3 separate regions of the Homo sapiens genome follow, and regions 1 and 3 are each linked to region 2. Evidence: promoter capture Hi-C in human tissues and cell types (Jung and others, 2019). All regions are on one chromosome and are shown on one strand. Each heading gives the region's core, a stretch centred on a gene start or on the middle of the fragment in contact. The rest is flanking DNA. Distances are from core to core; before and after follow the strand shown. Region 1 overlaps ANKMY1 (ankyrin repeat and MYND domain containing 1). Region 2 holds the start of AGXT (alanine--glyoxylate aminotransferase). Region 3 overlaps FARP2 (FERM, ARH/RhoGEF and pleckstrin domain protein 2).

Region 1 (3,812 bases), core at 747-3,246, 350 kb after region 2:
TTGTGTCTAGCTAAAGGATTGTAAATGCACCAATCAATGCTCAGTGTCTAGCTAAAGGATTGTAAATGCACCAATCAGCACTCTGTAAAATTGACCAATCAGCGTTCTGTAAAATGGACCAATCAGTGGTCTGTAAAATGGACCAGTCAGCAGGATGTGGGCGGGGCCAAAAAAGGGAATAAAAGCTGGCCACCGCCAGGCTCCCCACCAGCCTGCAGCGACAACCTGCTTAGTTTCCTTTCTGTGCTGTGGAAGCTTTGTTCTTTCAGTCTTCACAATAAATCTTGCTGCTGCTCACTTTTTGGTCCGCATCACCTTTAAGAGATGTTAACACTTGCCAGTGAAGGTCCACAGCTTCATTCTTGAAGTCAGTGAGACCATGAACTCACCGGAAGGAAGAAATTCCAGACACACCATGTTTAAGAGCTGTAAAGGGGGGCCAGGCGCAGTGGCTCACTCCTGTAATCCCAGCACTTTGGGAGGCCGAGGCAGGTGGATCACGAGGTCAGGAGATGGAGACCATCCTGGCTAACACGGTGAAACCCCGTCTCTACTAAAAATACAAAAAATTAGCCAGGCGTGGTGGCGGGTGCCTGTAGTCCCGGCTACTTGGGAGGCTGAGGCAGGAGAATAACTTGAACCTGGGAGGCGGAGCTTGCAGTGAGTGGCATCGCGCCACTGCACTCCAGCCTGGGCGACAGGGCGAGACTGTCTCAAAAAAAAAAAAAAAAAAAAAAAAAAAAGCTGTAACACCGCGAGTTCCGCGACTTCATTCTTGAAGTCAGCGAGACCAACAACCCACCAGAAAGGCATAGATCCTGGACATGTTTTGACAGTTTTTGAGCTTTACATGGTAGCGGCAGACAAGGAGAGCCAGCACCCACGTCAACGCAGCTCCCTGGGCTTCCGAGTGGTCAGGGTCTGGAGACGGGTCTGGAGACTGGGCTGGAGGCTGCTGCTCAAGTGCTCAAGGACGATCTAGTTCCCGCGGCTCCGATTCTGTGCCTACTGCAGGGCCAGTGGGCTTGGCTCGATCCTACACCTGCCCTGCCCTCATGGTCATTCCCGCTGCCATCTGGGCCCCCTACCCCCAGTCCCCTCCTCCCTCAGCCCTGCGCGGCTGCACAACCCCCACCCACCTGGTCCCAGCCTCTCTTGAGGCCCAAGTTTTCTCTGGAGGCACAGTTTACTCCTGACCTGGCCAGCCTTTCAGTGACCCCTCAGAGGTGTGTGTGCGCCTGTGTGTTTGTGTCTTTGTGGTGTGAGTGGTGTGTGTGGTGTGTGTGTGGTTTGTGTGGTTGTGTGCTGTATGTGTAGTGTGGTTTGTGTGCTCTGGTGTGTGGTGTGCCGTGTGCGTACTGTGTGGTGTGCGCTGTGCTATGGTGTGTGCGCTCTGGTGTGGCTTGTGTGTGGGGTTGTGTGCTGTGTGTACTGTGTGGTGTGCTGTGGGTGTGGTTGTGAGTGTGCTGTGTGGTGTGCTGTGTGTGCCGTGTGTGTGCGCTCTGGTGTGGCTTGTGTGTAGTTGTGTGCTGTGTGGTGTGTCTGCGTGTGTGGGTGTGTGCTGTGTGTGTGATTGTGTAGTTGCGGCACACACATACTCCCTACGCGCCCCTCCCCAGCCTCCTCGCTGGCATGGCCCCGTTCTGGGCGCAGTGCAGGTGCCTGCCCTCCAGGGGCCCACGGGCGCACCGTCTTTTTCAGGCGGAGGAAGCGCTGGCGGACCATCAAGCTGCTGCTGCGCCGGGGCGCGGACCCCAACCTGTGCTGCGTGCCCATGCAGGTCCTGTTCCTTGCTGTGAAGGCCGGGGACGTGGATGGGGTGAGGCTGCTGCTGGAGCACGGGGCGAGGACCGACATCTGCTTTCCGCCGCAGGTAGGAGCCGCGGCGGGCGGGCGCCGGGACGAGCGCAGCAGACTCCCGGGCACTGGCCGGGAAGCTCCTCGCTCCACCTAGGCGCGGAAGAGAGGGGTGGGCTCTTGCAGGCGACCACCTGGGCTGTGAGTGATGACGGCGCGCCGCAGTGGGGGGTCCCACAGCCCGCTCTTTCACCCATGTCCCCAGACAGGATTTGGACACCGAGCTAGTTTTTAGAGTACTTCACGATCCGTGTGATTTTTTTCCCAGTGTTGAAGCAAACTAAGGGGAAGCGCATCCTGAAGGCCCCTTGGAAAGGGGAGACTTATATTCAGGAGGAGGCGGGCCTCCTTTCAACCCACGCTCAGCATCACAAGGACGCAGGCAGGAGAGGCAAAGGGTTTTGGTGCTGAGGTTTTATCTTTAGCTCAACAGATCCAGCCGCAAAATATTTAGCTGAGAAAAAATCTTCGAAGGGGAATCTGATTTTATATTTTTTTTCTTAAGAAGTGCCTTTCCCAGCGGACGGCTTCTTCCCTCTCTGAGGCCACACCCACCCGTGAGCAAGCGGCTTCACAGGGCATTTTGCTCTGGAATAAATTAGCCTGCTAGTTCTTCGAAGAAAGTTTAGTGTTTCTGCTGAGTTTCACTGGGGACTCAGGGCTTTATGGGCTTAGCTCGTTCAAACAACTCTCCTTTTCCCACCTGTCCCCCTGGGCAGTGTGTACCCCCGTGCTTGGCCCCAGATTCCTGCAGCCCTTCCCACAGCACAGCTGCTGGAAGGGCTTCCTTCCCGAATTTCCACTGCTCTGGAATGGAATCGGTCGCTGCCCATGACTGCTCCTCCTCTCAGAGGCGTCTGGGGTGAGGCCAGGCTTCTCTCGCAGCTCCGTCAGTCCATGAGGGCCTCGTTAGGTTCACAGGGGATGGGGCGAGATGGAAGTATGACAGCAAGCGTGGGCTCACTGCGGCGTTTCCTGTTCACTTTAACGTGACGTTATCTGTTGTATTTCATCCCTTTGCCTGAACCCTTGTTGTCATTCTTTCTCTTTGTATTTTGAAGGACCCTACAATCATTTCTCTAATTTAACATCTAGACCAACCCCATCACAATTTTCCGTTCAGTGCATCCACCCATCCACACTCAAGAAACCACTGCTGTCCACAGTGGCTGTGAAGATTCCAGATGGGTGACGAACTGGCACCAGGGCCACCTTTGGGTGCCCCCAGAACAGGGGGCCCATTATGCAGACCCATGATGGGCTTCTGTCCACTTGGCTGTGAAATTTATTTGTAGATTTTGTTTTTCTTCTCCGGTTGTGTAAACACTCGTCCATCGTTTCAGCACTTTACCTTCTTCACAGGGTGTTGATGGGGTGAGAGCTGATGGCTCTCTCTGGGCACCAGCCTTGCCAGTTGTCACTCAGGCGGCATTGAGTGTTTGAGGGCAGGCGGGTCTCACTGTCCAGGCCCCTTAGTGCACAGCCTTTCAGCTTGGAAATTAAACTTTTCTTCCAAGTGTAAGATTACACAGAAAACAGAATTTTTGGTTTAAGACTCAGGATAATTTCATACCTTTTTAGGTTTACTGATTGGACTCCGTCTTTGAAACTGATTAAGGTCACAACCTTTAAACTGGGCACGGACATCCTTCACTGTGTCACATGTTTATTCACCTGTTCATAGCTGATCAGGAATGTATTATTTACACATTTATCTTTCAAATAGAAAGTTTTTAAAAATTAAAATATTTGAGTGGGTTCAGAAATGAACATGTCACCAAAACGCCAGGGGTTCGGTCTAGATCCTGCTGCTTACTGCACAGAAAGCCAATCAGTGAGATGACAGGTACTGCCAGAGAAGAAGGCTTTAATTGGGTGCTGCACCAGGGAGAGCAGGAGATTGTTCTCAAACCCTGTCCTCAACCGACTAAAATTGGGGGTTTCATAGCAGGGAA
Region 2 (3,313 bases), core at 223-2,722:
AGTGTACCTGGTCCAGGGCTGGCACACCACAGGTGTGATGGATGACAGACTGAAGGATGAGGGGTGAGTGAGGCAGCAGCCTTGACCTCTGTTGGAGCTGGGGACTCCAGGAATCAGGCCCTCACCCCCTCCCTGTCTCTGCCCTATCCTGTGTGCTGTTCAGGGCCAGGTTGTGGGAGGGGAAGAACCTGCGGCCAAGGGGACAGAATGGGGAAAAGGGAAGCCATATACCACAGGCATCTGAGCCTGCGTGCCCTGATGTCCACTTGGGGTCCTGGCCTCTGCCGACCCTGGGTCCCCTTGAAAAGTTTGTGGACTTGGGGTTGGGACCCTCTTGGCTGTTGCGGTCGCGTATTAACCAGCATGGCCATTGTGGAGCTCACCAAGCTGATGTCCCTCAATGCCACAATCAATCATTAAACCCAGGGCACACTCCTGCTCCTGTGTCTCTCCCAGAAAAGTGTACTCCGGAGGCGAATACTCTGCCCATACCTCCATATTTTGTGTATCACATCAAGATTCCAGAAGGAAGGCTGCTGAGATTTGAGGGGAGGCTTCAGCTTCTGAAACCCCACCCTGTCACAAAGCAGAGCTGGTGCCTGGGGCCCTGGACAGCGGCCGGGGCTCTCAGGAGTGTGTGCTGGGACCAGAGGCTTCCCTGTAGTTCCGTCCTGCACATGCTCCAGAAACAGCTCAAGGAGACTGGGGGGATCGGGGCACCTGTGCTGCTCCCAGCCCTATCAGAGTCAGGCCTCATGAGTGCCCGACACCGCCTGGAGGAGGCAGTGGGCTGGCAGGAGGTTCGTGCGCACAGGGCCACAAGGTGGGTAAGCGCTCACCCAGGAACGGGGGCTGCCAGCTTCAAACAGAGGGAGGCCAGGGAGGCCTTGAAGGATGGATCCAGGGCCATCCCCACCTGGGCCTCTCCCTTACCTATGCGCTCCCCGATGTCCACGGCTCGCTGCCCCCAAATGCCATTGGCCCCAACCAGGAAGGAGTCCCCAGGCTCCAGCACATTGACCAGGGCGGCCTCCAGGGCACAGTGTCCCGAGCCAGAGATGACCAGTGTGAGTGGGTTCCTGGTCTGGAACACGTACTGGATGCCTTCCTTGATCTCGTCCATGATCTGCATGCGGGTGGTATAGGGTGAGACCCAGGCTCCCCGCCTCCCCAAGTGAGGAGGCAGTGACCCCCTTCCCTCGTCCACGATCTGTGGGTGGGAACATGGGTGAGACCCAGGCCCCCCGAGTGACCCCCACTCCTACCTGGTACATATCCTTGCTCATGGACCCGATCATCTGCAGCCCCCCGGCTGCCATGATGCGAGGAGGCAGGTTGGAAGGACCAGGCCCCAGCAGGAGCTGGTTGGGGATGGAGAGGGGCTTGAGCAGGGCCTTGGGGGGGGTCACCAGCAGCTTGTGAGAGGCCATGGTCCGCACCCAACCTGCCGCTCGGGAACCTGGGGCTGCACTGGCCTTGGCCAAAGCCTGGAATATTTCCCAGCAGGGCGGACACAGAGGTGAGAGGTGAGGATTGGTGGATGGGCTTCCGTGGCAGCCCTGCCTTTTGTTCCCTGAGGCTTATCTGTGCTTGTGCTGCGGGTCACGGCCAGGCAGCAGGGGACGAAGCCCTCAGGCAGAGGGAGCCCCCAGGGCTGAGTGACAGAAAAACAGAGTGTGACAAAGCTGTCCTCACCCCAGCCCTCCTCGCTCCCACTCTGAGTCCTGCACGTCCAGCCCCTCTTATTCTGCTTAGCTCAGGGGTGAGAGAAGTGTTTCTTAAAGGGTCGGAGCACAGATAATTGAGGCTTGGCAGGCCCTGTGGTCTATGTTGCAACAACTCAACCCTGCTGCGTGCTTGCAAAGCAGCTGCCAGAGGTGTGGGCGTGTTCCTATAAAACTTTATTTACAAAAAGCAGGTGGCAGGCCAGATTGGGCCCATGGACTGTGGTTTGCTGACCCTGGCGCAGCTGATGGGAAGGCTTGTAAACCAAAAATAAAATTCGAAGGCCCCCCAGCAACCATCTGAATGGGGTTCCCTGTCCGCCAGGGTGCTCTAAACTTTAACCCGGAAGACGTTCAGGCCATGCCACATCATAACCCCCAGCATTAACATCGACATAGACCTTAAGTCTGATAGGAAGCATTTACCATCTATTTTCTCTCTAAATCCCGCTACCTGAAGGCATCATCTGCTCCCTGCAACCCCTATTTCATAACCCAGACACTCCTTTCTGCTGATAATAATTCTTCAGTCAGTTGCCAATCAAAATATGTTTAAATCTACCTATGACCTGGAAGCCCCCCAATTCAAGTTGTCCCGCCCTTCCAGATGGAACCAATGTAAATCTCCCATGTATTGATTGATGCCTCATATCTCCCTAAAATGTATAAAAGCAAGCTGTGCCCCGACCACCTTGGGCCCTTGTGGTCAGGGGTGCACCCTTGAGCTTGGCAAGGATGTCCTCCCTCCTGAGGCTGTACCACGGGTGCATCCTTAGCCTTGGCAACAAAAACTTTCTAAATTAATTGAGACCTGTTTGAGGTACTTTTTGGTTTACAGGCTCAATTTAGCAAGCAAACCTGCATGGTATACAGACACACACAAGGCAGGGGTTGCACAGTGAGTTTCAGCATGCTGCATTCCAGAGATGTATAGAAATTCTAGTTATGTATAAGTTTTAGGTTGAAAAGAGGCCTGGAACCAGGTGCCAACTTTAGATAATAGGGAAGTCTAATTCATTCTACATTTCTCAAATAAAGAGGCTCCCCTCCACCCACCCCACCTGGGGCCTGCTTGATGGTCTCCAGGTGATCTTTGCTGTCCTCATTTTCCCTCTGACAAATATCTTGGTGAAATCTTTGACCCTTCCTTTTCTGCCATGCTCATGTCCACCTGCTTCCTGTTGGGGTCTCAAGAAAGGGGAAACGGCACAGTGAAGAGGGGTGTCCAGTGCGCCTGACTACTTGCTGCTGAAAGGGAGTTCAGGGGGGTAGGTCACGTTTTTCCCTTTCTTGCTCTCGGTCATGAAGGGAATAAAGGGTCATGAAAACTTGTGCACGGAGGCACGTGATGGGATTCCATCAAGAAGCCCCACGTAAATGGGAGCTGCAGTTGCAGGCCGGTATTTCCATCAAGAAGCCCCATGTAAATCGAGCTGCAGTTGCAGGCCAGTGTTGGGAATGCATAGCCTTCTGCAGGTGGAATTGTTCTCATGTAGAACATAGAAAAGCAATCAGAGCATTAAAAAGGCAGGGACCAAATATTAAAAGAAAAATGACAGAAGATAAAGGTCTAAGGAATGGGGGAAGCC
Region 3 (3,573 bases), core at 47-2,546, 500 kb before region 2:
TTACCCATCATCTTCAGCTGTCTTTCTCCATGCTGGATGCTCCTTGAGGGAAGGAACTAAATTCTTACTGTAAACATTTGCTAAGTATTTACTTAATGTCACTGGCACCAAAAAACATGAACTGGTACATCATGAAATGTACTGTAAAGATGATAACAGCAAAAGACAAAAGACTACAACCACAAACAGAACAACACTTTAACAAAATTACCGTTTTTGCAACACTAATATTAAACATGAGATATATGAAGTTCTGAGAATCATAAACGAGCCTTTTCATTTCAGTTCCACAAACTTTTACTTAATTTTTATGAGTGCATAATTGTACATGTTTATGGGGTATGTGATTTTTTTTCTTATTTTTTAATTGACAGAAATTGTATATACTTATCATGTACAACATGATGCCCTGAAATATGTCTACACTACGGGATGGCCAAATTGAGGCAATTAACATATGCAAGACCTCACAAACTTCAAATTTTTTGTGGTGAGAACACTTAAAATCCACAAAAATTAGTAATGTTCAGAAATACGGTATGTATCTTAGCAATTTTCAGAAATACAATACTAACTAGAGTCACCATGCTATATAATAGATCTTCTAAACTGCTGTCTAACTCAAGTTTTGTATCCTTATACAAGCAAACAATGTGTAATGGTCAAATTAGGGTATTTGGGATATCCTCGACCTCAAACATTTACAAATTCTTTCTGTTGGGAACATTCCAAATCCACTCCTCCAGTTATTTTGAAATATACAATAAGGTATTAACTATAGTTGCCCTATTGTGCTACCAAACAATAGATCTTATTTCTTCTTACTGCATTTTTGTACCCATTAATTAATCCTTCTTAATTTCCCACCCCCTACTACCCTTCCCAACCTCTGGTAACCATCACTTTTTTTCAGTTCCCACATATGAGTGAGAATATATGATATTTGTCTTTTTCACAAACTTTTATTTATTGAGTAGTTAATGCAAAAGTAAGAGAATGCAAATGAAGAAGACTTCCACTTTGAAGGTTCCTCCAACGTGAAAACATGAAAATAAAAATAAGTGATCTATATGTTCTTGGTCAGCTCACAACATTTATTAAATATAGAACCACCAACAGTGGGTTCTTCTGAAACAAAGGATAGGATGTTTTACTTTGGTCACCAAAGGCATTCTTTCCCTTAAGTAATGCTACAAATCTGTAAACATTTATACAACTGAAATACATTTTTAGAAGTCATTTCTCTTATTTATTCTACTGTATAATTCTCATTTATGTTTTCTTAAGTATAGCTTTAAAAATTTCTTCAGGTTCTTTCTCTTCTACTCATTATAAGAAAGTCATGTCTAAACATCTACTGCTAAAAAAAAAAAATAGACAAGACTAACCTGTACTCCCTAGAGGTGCACATTCCACTGATAAAACCATAAAGAGAAAACACCAGGAAGTTATTACTAAAGTGGTCCCTTCTTGATGGGAGAGAGGGACTGTCACTGGGATGGAACACAGAGAAGGAGTTCTTAGGTGGGCAGGGCACAGTTTTATTTCTTGATCTGGACAGTGTTCATTTTATAATTCATTAAGCCATATATCTGATTCATGTTTTTATGTGTGTTTATTTTATAACAAAAATGTTTAAAACAAGTTTTTTAACATTGCTTCCTCTTCCACGAGAACATGACACACTAGACAAATAAAAAACACTTTTCCTAGCTTAAGGAATATCAAACTCTCTTCTCAAATATGTGGCTCACAGAGGAAATCTTTACACGTTTGCACACTTTCCAAGCAGCGACTTACATCCTCATTTTCATTTAGCCCAGACAGACGTCAACATGGCTGCAGCTGAGATGCAGGGCCACAACAAGATACCCTTGTTCATGAGACTGATCTTAAGAAGACAGATTCACTTGAGAGGAGATGACCCTGTGGTACTCTGTTGCTGATATCCCAAAGAAAAATCTGTTTGTTGTCACATAATAGTAACGTGGCATAAACTATCCGTTTAATAATTACTCAGCTTTAAGATTAAGACTAAGACTTATATTTAAGACTTTAACACTAAATTTAAGACTAAGACTTAAGTTTAAGACTTTAAGTTTATTACTAAGCTTATGAAAACTTAAAAAGACCTTAATAAAGCCAGGAATAGTGGCGCACACCTATAATCTCAGCTACTCAGGAGACTGAGGTGGGAGGATCACTTGAGAATAGCAGTTTGAAACCAGCCTGGGCAACATAGTGAGACTCTATCTCTAAAGAAATGTAAAAAAATACATTAATAGAATACCGGCAGGTAACCCCATTGTTGTGACTGTCGGTTAACCTCGGTGTCAAAGCCTGTCAATCCCAGCTACTCGGGAGGCTGAGGCTGTTTCACATAAATTTTGACTAATGAAAATTACATTTGTTTTGCTTTGTGCGCTTATAAACAAGTATTAAAGAGGCAAGAACACACAGGCTAGACTAGGAACACGGCAAGGCCATGAACAGTCCTTGGCGCACCATGTTCTGTGGTCCCAGGAACCTGGTGCCAACCTCTGCCCATCCCTGCTCCTGCCAGCGAAACCTCCCAGATACCCAGAGGAAAGTGGCAAAGTAAACAACCAAGAATCTGTGGGGGACTCAGCTTATTGTGCCATCTTCTTTCAACGTGAATGAAATGCTTTGCAGTCTTCATTCCTAAAAACATTTCTGGTGGCCGATACAATTTGCACTACTGACATTTGGTCCTGCCTACTACAAACTCGGCTCTTGTGGGTATAGTCTCATTTAATAATAAAAGAAAACCCCGTGACATGTCATTTCCATTTTAAAGTTGGAAAATTCAGCTCAAAAGTCTGCCAAAGCTTTGGGTGATAATGATGTACTGAGTAGGTTTGTAACAAATGGACCACTCTAGTGACAAATGTTGACAGTAGGGGATGCTGTGTGTATGTGGGGGTGGAGGGTATATGGAAAATCTCTTTATCTCCTGCTTAATTTTGCTATTAACCTAAAACTGCTCTAAAAAATAAAATCTATTAAAAAAAAAAAGGCCTGCCAAGGAACAAATAACTCAGAAGTGACAGAGCTAGGACTTGGGCCCAGACTTGGCTACCAAAACTCTTCCCCTTCTGCTGGAAAATCAGCACATGGCTTTTTAGACAAAAGCATAGTCCACCATCCACAGTAACGGGTAGAGGCTAACATTTCTATTTTGCAATTTAAAAAAAATCACCTTTCCTAAAATATTTTTCACTGTCTGCTTTGGGAAAATAAAAAACTAAACTCCTCTACGACCAACCCAAGAAACCAGAATATGAACTTAATATTTCACTACACTCATCTAATATGAAAGTCCACTGCAGCATTGGGAAGAAACTTCACTGCTGATGATGTTCAAATGGAATTCCTCCTCAATCCCTCGGCCCTGGGGCGCATTACCTCTTTACTGCAGCACAGCAAGAGACGGATCCTTCTTTATTCTCTTTCTAAGCATTAGTAACTTTTAGAATAAGGAACTAAATAGTCAATGTGAGGAAGCAGAGAAAAATGTCAAGACCTGTACTGTAAAGTAAGGCCTTCAAACTG

Evidence for each region. Contacts are between HindIII fragments. The study calls those that stand out against the background at their distance.
Region 1: a contact is called between a fragment that was not itself captured here and the fragment with the promoter of AGXT in region 2, in 1 of the 25 tissues and cell types used here (lymphoblastoid cells).
Region 3: a fragment that was not itself captured here is called in contact with the fragment with the promoter of AGXT in region 2 in 1 of the 25 tissues and cell types used here (aorta).

The regions. Positions count from the first base shown.
Region 1 is chr2:240,518,423-240,522,234 of GRCh38, reverse strand. ANKMY1 (ankyrin repeat and MYND domain containing 1) reads left to right here. Exons shown (of 18, transcript NM_001282771.3): 9 at 1,702-1,873. Among named protein-coding and RNA genes, the nearest start is that of ANKMY1, 38 kb to the left of the region's middle. The HindIII fragment of the contact is 6,500 bases long and covers 1-3,812 here.
Region 2 is chr2:240,866,983-240,870,295 of GRCh38, reverse strand. AGXT (alanine--glyoxylate aminotransferase) reads right to left here and starts at 1,472. Exons shown (of 11, transcript NM_000030.3): 1 at 1,266-1,472; 2 at 934-1,126. The coding sequence starts at 1,430. RefSeq lists an enhancer at 1,453-1,953. The HindIII fragment of the contact is 24,692 bases long and covers 1-3,313 here.
Region 3 is chr2:241,367,339-241,370,911 of GRCh38, reverse strand. All of the region lies in intron 1 of FARP2 (FERM, ARH/RhoGEF and pleckstrin domain protein 2), which reads right to left. It overlaps LOC105373973 (a long non-coding RNA gene), which reads left to right. Exons shown (of 3, transcript XR_924066.2): 2 at 375-537. Among named protein-coding and RNA genes, the nearest start is that of FARP2, 13 kb to the right of the region's middle. The HindIII fragment of the contact is 3,975 bases long and covers 1-3,283 here.